Regions from separate parts of the Homo sapiens genome. Here region 1 is linked to region 2. The links are contacts of gene promoters, found by promoter capture Hi-C in blood cells and fetal thymus (Javierre and others, 2016). All regions are on one chromosome and are shown on one strand. Each heading gives the region's core, a stretch centred on a gene start or on the middle of the fragment in contact. The rest is flanking DNA. Distances are from core to core; before and after follow the strand shown. Region 1 overlaps LOC105375448 (a long non-coding RNA gene). Region 2 holds the start of LSMEM1 (leucine rich single-pass membrane protein 1).

The links. Contacts are between HindIII fragments. The CHiCAGO score rates a contact against its expected background, and 5 or more counts as called.
Region 1: a fragment that was not itself captured here is called in contact with the fragment with the promoter of LSMEM1 in region 2 in 3 of 17 cell types (activated CD4 T cells, total CD8 T cells and naive CD8 T cells); the score reaches 9.0 in activated CD4 T cells.

Annotation. Positions count from the first base shown.
Region 1 is chr7:108,619,385-108,622,848 of GRCh38, reverse strand. All of the region lies in intron 3 of LOC105375448 (a long non-coding RNA gene), which reads right to left. Among named protein-coding and RNA genes, the nearest start is that of DNAJB9, 51 kb to the right of the region's middle. The HindIII fragment of the contact is 1,005 bases long and covers 1,456-2,460 here.
Region 2 is chr7:112,479,676-112,482,729 of GRCh38, reverse strand. It overlaps LSMEM1 (leucine rich single-pass membrane protein 1), which reads right to left and starts at 1,739. Exons shown (of 4, transcript NM_182597.3): 1 at 1,384-1,739. The HindIII fragment of the contact is 7,612 bases long and covers 1-3,054 here.

The DNA of each region.
Region 1 (3,464 bases), core at 709-3,208, 3.9 Mb after region 2:
ATATGGACTGCAATAAGGACAGACAAGTACTATTTAAGATTCATAACAACTCTACAGTAGATACCCTTAACATGACCACTTTACAAATGAGTAAACTAAGACTAAAAAGAAGTGAAATAATTTTTCCAAGCTCACAGAGCTCGGAGCAAGCTGTTGAGTTGGGGTTGAGTAGCTCTAGAGCTAGCCTACTGGTAGAGCAGTCCAGTTTGCTCAAGACTAAGAGGTTTCCTGAGGGATTTTCAATGCGAAATCCAAGACCATCCTGAGCATTACAGGTATTAATCACATTACCGTCTTATTGATCAGGTTTATAGTCAATGACAGTGCTTACTGTTTTCCACATCGGAGAAGAGCTCTGAAATCTGCTAATCCCTATGCATAATAACAACACAGCATAATTCATGCCCTCCAGAAAAATCGTTCCAAGTCTCATGTTTTTATTTTGATTTGTGTTTGTTTCTTGGGTTGTTGTAGTGGTGATGATAGTATTAACATATCAGCATCCTATCATGAATATGCCTAAGAATCTCCCACCAAGATATCCTCAGTGTTATGTGTTCATTTAACCCAGGCTTCCAGGGACCACATAGACATTCAGACCAACATTACCGTGGCCTTGGGGATTATCACAATGTGACTGATTCTATCCTAAATATCCCCATTCTGTCCTCTGCTTCCCTGGAAGTTCCAAGTGGCTCACATCCTTCCTTAACAATCATTTCCATTTTTAAACAGCCACTGTCATAGTTGTCAATTCTCCTACAGCTGCCAGAATTGAAGCCTAATGACATAATTCTGTTTATTGACCAGTCCCTACATAACAAGCCACAGGCTGCTGCCGTTACACATTGTTTCATGTCATCCCTGACCAATCAGGTTGGGTTATTAACCTCTGACATACCCAAATAGTTCACTCTACTTTCTGACAAGAGCTTCTCTTCCTTCCCAGATCTAGTGATTGCCTGTTTTCTTGCCTGTATATCTCATGTATGCAGCATGAGAGTAAGACTATGTTTTAAGCCATCATTCTATTCCCAACAATCTCTTTTTCTCCCTTTAGTACAAAGCAGGACACTCTTAGGGGCAGCCCTTCAAGAGGCAGTATTCTAAGAAGCACCCTAACACTGAACCAAACTACCTGACTTCAAATCCTGACTCTGTTACCTACTAGCTATGGAAGCCTGGACAAGTTTCCTCACCTCTTTAAGCAAGCATTTCCTCTTCTGCAAAATAGACGTAATAATAGTACCTACCTCATAGGGTTGTTGTGAAGATTAAATGTGTTACCAAATATAAAGCTTTAAAACATAACCTGGCATCGAACACCAATGTTCTGGTTTGCCTGGGACTTAGGGGCTTCAAGGATGCAGGACTTTCAGTGCTGAAACTAGAAAAGTCACACGCAAAGCAGGTAACTCCACCTGGCACATAGTAAGCAATGTTTCTATGTAAGCTTCTGTTGAAGATGTGGTTGGTGATATACGGAAAGATGGTACCCTCTTTTGAACCGTAACTAGATTATTACATACCTCCAATTTCTGTTTTTTTTCCGAATTATGTCATCTGAGCAAGCAGCAGGCATACATACCTCCTAAACTAAGCACCCAGCTTATGGGCTCCTAAACTAGGCACCCAGCTCATGGGCTCTTTTGTCTTCAAACGTATCATCCTAAGCAGAAGCCCAATCATCTCTGGTCCATCTCTCCCAAGGTTTTTACATTAGAATCACAGGCTCACTTCTCATTCATTTATTTACTCCTAAGGTCTGCTTAGGAGAAGAAGAAATGGGGCTTTCTTCTTATTGGCTCATTTGTTTGATCTTGTTTAATGAGGCAAATTTTTATAACACTAGGATGTGAAACATTATTACTGTCAACAGTGCCCAATATTATTTGGCTTTCCTATCACAGTGATTGCTGTGCATAAACAAATGACATTTGTTCGCCTATCCTCAGCTCTCACAACTACATAATCACTAACAGAATGTGAAATATATCTCTGATGCACTGGCCCAAACTTACATAGGTATGTACATGGTCAACATAATTAAAAACTATTGTAAATTTTCACAAGCACAACAGGACTTGTAATTCCAGAATGATGTTGTCACCTTGAATGGAGATGACAGCTGTAGAAGAAAAAATTGAAATTTAGTCCCAGATAACTCCCAGGTCTACATTAGTTTAAAGAGGTCTTAAATTACTTAAACATTTTAAGTCTGTTTCCTCATCTGAATAACATGAATAATACCTGCTTTATAGGACTTTGTGAAGATGAAATGAAACTAATGCATATCAGTCACCCAGCTTACTCCTTCCCAATTTTAAATCTAAGTTATCCTGGGGTAGGAGAAGAGGCACATAGCCAATCCAGAGAGGGTGATGTTGCACAAAATATTTGGACTTGCTTGCACCATATCCTGTAAGTTTCTAAACACAAAAATTCACTCCAAGTGAAGCTTGGTGAATAAAGTGCCCCAGCAAGGCAACACCATCTGTAACAAAAATGTAATTCTAAAGTGATAAGGAGACGCAGATGAAAAACTAACTCTGAGGCAATTCCAAATGAGGAGTTTCAAAAACATTTTGAGAAATGGTAGAGTATTTCAAATTAGTTCATAGCTTCTCAAGGTGACTCCTTGAAATAGCAACCCTGACCTGAATGGTTGCATCTATGTTTATTTTTTTAATCACATTTATTTTCATTTCTCTTATATAATTAAAATTAATCCTGATTTCAAACATCAATTTAGATATTCTAATCACTGTTTATGCTTGAAAGCACCCTGATATGTCATAAACCAAAGTTGAAAATTTTTTCTTGTTGTGCAAACTTTAGGGTTGGTGTAAGAAGGAATAAAGTTGTGTGTGTTACACATATGGTACTCCTGCAGATGGCCACGTGGAGGGCAGATTTCCATAGCCAGAATGCAGAATAGATTGTGTTTCCCATCCTAACATTTACAATAAAACACCCACATAAGTTGGTTTAAAATATTTTGGTTTCAGCATGATTAAATAATATGTTTGCAATTAATATCTATTCACTTTGCTGTGAACTCTTGGCCCCAGTGTGCATTACCAGAAACAGTAAGACACGCTCCCCAGTTCTCTGATTTCTCAAAGCAAGAGGTTTTTCTACTAGTACTGACTGCCGTAACTGTCTCAAAGAAAAAAAATATGTCCCTGGCCACAAAGTTAAATTATAGGAGAATTTTTTTTAAGTTAGGTTTGCTGATTTAAAAGGCCCTTGGTGAGCTTTCAGACCTCAATTAAGGCTGTGATTTGAGAAAAAGAAAATGAATTTTCCAAGCAATTAGGTGGTAATAGATCTAACGGCTTTGTGGGGAAAGAAATGGGTATATTTAACTTTGACAAGTAGCTGCCATGCATGTGTTATATAACCTCTTTTGATAAGTTTTTTTGCTCCATAGACCAAATACCTTTTTTAATTATCTGAAAACG
Region 2 (3,054 bases), core at 490-2,989:
TCAGTCAAATCTTATCCTTTTGCAGTTAAAACCAAGGCCCCAAAATATTCACTCATGCATAGTCACAGATTTTAAAACAATTCTTTTAGATGTGTTTCATATTTTATCATCCATTTATACTAATATTTGACCAAACAGTAATATGTGACCAGGAAAAAAAGTTTTATGTGTCACATCACAGGACCACTGTTCTGCACACAGCTTCTATTTTAGGTGTGGTAACTGAAGCATGGTTCATTTTTGGATCTCTGACTTAATAGCCTTGAGCCTTAGCTTCCCCTTCAGGAATGTATCTGCTGTTGCTTCAATTTCATACTGAGGCTTAATCAATGTTTACAAAATAGAGACCTAGCTAGAAAATCATGGCCACAAAAACTGACTTTAAGAGTACAGCTAATAAAATCTCCATATTACTGGTCTTGCTATCTACTCAAAAGGTGACTCCAAAAAAAACTAAGACAACAACCTAGTGAGCCATGACGTGCTTTGAAAGAAAATGTCTTCTTTAGAGTGAAGTCACAATGTAAATATATGCTATTCCAATATTTTTTTAATGAGCTGCAACACGCAAATGGAAAAATAAAGAACTAGCAGAGAAAACTGAGTTGGGTGCTGTTCCAGGGCTCCAAGAGCCTGCAAATGACTTGCAAATGACTCATGAGGCTGCTAGTAAAGGGATACAAGATCACATGGCCTTAAAACCAGGCCCCACGGCTGTTTGACACCCAGTAGTTGCTATCTTTGGCATCTCCAAATGAGGGCATCTAGGAACAACCAGCAAGGCTGGAGAAGCCAGTGTTACTAGCAATTCTTCATCACACTAACTTGACCCTCCTTTCAACTCCAGTGTGCAAATTTGCTTATTCACCAAGATTGGCTAAAGCAGCATCCCTTTAACAGAACCCTTTCTTATACCTTGACTGGAAACATGTAAGTAATTTCATTTTCCTCTGGTTTAGATCACTGCTAACAGTTGATTTTTTGTCATTTAAGAATTCTTTGACTATTTACAAATAAATATTCCAACAAATAAAGATAATTGTCTATGAAAAATTGCCTGGTGCTTTATTTTTTAACCAGGCAGGTGCTTGGTATCAAACCACAGAAATAACTCACACCAGTATTGCTTGCCACAAAATCAGAATTGTTATAATAGGGCATAATTCAAAGCTAATAAGCAGTGTTATTGAATGAGTCATGGTAATTTGTTCTTTAATTTCATTTCCCAGTCAATGCCTCTTCACATTCAGGAAGTAATTTTTAAAATCAAGTCTAAATCATTTCTATCAAAAATGAAAAACACAGAGCACATGCAACAAAAACTTCCCAGACTCGAGAATCATAATTCAGTCTCAGTAGAGTAATAGCATGCAAATTACTTACAAAAATGTGAGCTTTGACTGCTAGGTTACCAGAAAAACAAAACAAAACAAAACAAACAAACAAAAACTAATTGTTCAGAAGCAACTACAACAAAACTTTTCTACAAATTCTGTAGTTCTCTCTTTGCCTTTCTTCAGCATACGGGTGCTCCTATGAGACCCATAAGCCCCAGGATGAAACTGTTGGTCTATATTGTGTCAATTTAGCCAAGCAGTGTAAGATTCCAAATCCTGACTTTTTTCATAATGTCTAAGGTTTTTAGTAAATATATTACTAAAACTATGCTTTAAAAAGAAAACAACAAAAAAACACCATGCCCTGATTTAGTTGGTAACTGATGAGGTTTTTATTGGACTGAAGTTACCGTCCTTATCTGGCTGAAGCAACTGTTAGCTGACACCACCTTTCCAGCACTCCTGCCATGGTATGCTTCCATATATAAATATCCTGTAGCAGGCGGAAGCTGCCACTATGATGACTGACTTGCAAACACTCCAGACAAACCAGAGAACTGCAATAAACACGGACAGAATATGATTATGACATCATAACAAGGATGATGGCAGGTCAGACGCCTAGTGCTTCCAGTAGCTACAAAAAGCGATTGTGAGTGGGCGATTTCATGGATACAGACCCACCACAGGTGAAGGAAGCACTCCATCTCATCGGCCGCCTTTCCTTTACAAAGGCTTTGTTCTGTGAGTGTCTGCACATCCTCCTTTCTCAGGAATAACAGCCTTCCATATATGTGGTTCCCTCACATACATGCCAAGGAGCTTCTGCCCTCTGCTGTACATAAAAGATGCTACAGTGATGAGGAGACCAACTATCTCAGCAGGATACTAACAGTGAGGTTGTGAACAACTGTGCAATCCTTTATCATCCTCACTTCCATTGCCATAGCTTGATGGACATTATTCATCTTTGAAACATTTTTCATGTCAGTGAGAAAATAGGTGTTCCACAAAATTTTCTTTGAGACAGAGTCTTGCTGTGTTGCCCAGGCTGGAGCGCAGTGGCATGATCCCAGCCTACTGAGACCTTCCTGCTTCCAGATTCTCCTGCCTCAGCCTCCCAAGTAGCTGGGATTACAGGTATGTGCCACCATAGCTGGCTAATTTCTTTATTTTTAGTAGAGATGGGGTTTCACCATGTTGGTCAGGCTAGTCTTGAACTCCTGACCTCAAGTGATCCACCCACCTCGGCCTCCCAAAGTGCTGGGATTACAAACTTGAGCCACCATGCCCGGCCCAAAATTTTCTTTACACCTATATCCCATACGGACCTCACTCTGCTTTGGGGGAAGAGGAATGTCATTTTTTTTTTCCCTTCACACTACCTAGTCTAAGAGGGAATGTCATTTTTTCAAGCCTCATCTGTACCCAAAGACTAATTCTTGGAGGAAGACAATATAACTAGTAACTTTTCTCAGAAACATACGTTAAAAAGCTATGTCAAATTTCTCTGAATAATGAAAATGTTCATGTTAGCTATTATGCTGTTTTTAAGAAATCTCCCAACTACCTGATCTGCCTTGAGCCATGTATCCTTTGAAGATATAATAGAAGTAACTGCCTCATTTTGGGGCGTTTACTACTTTTCCTCTCCTGTAACTTCTAACTTTGTGGAATATTAACTTCCCCTGAAGGAGGAAGGAAATGGAGACTAAGG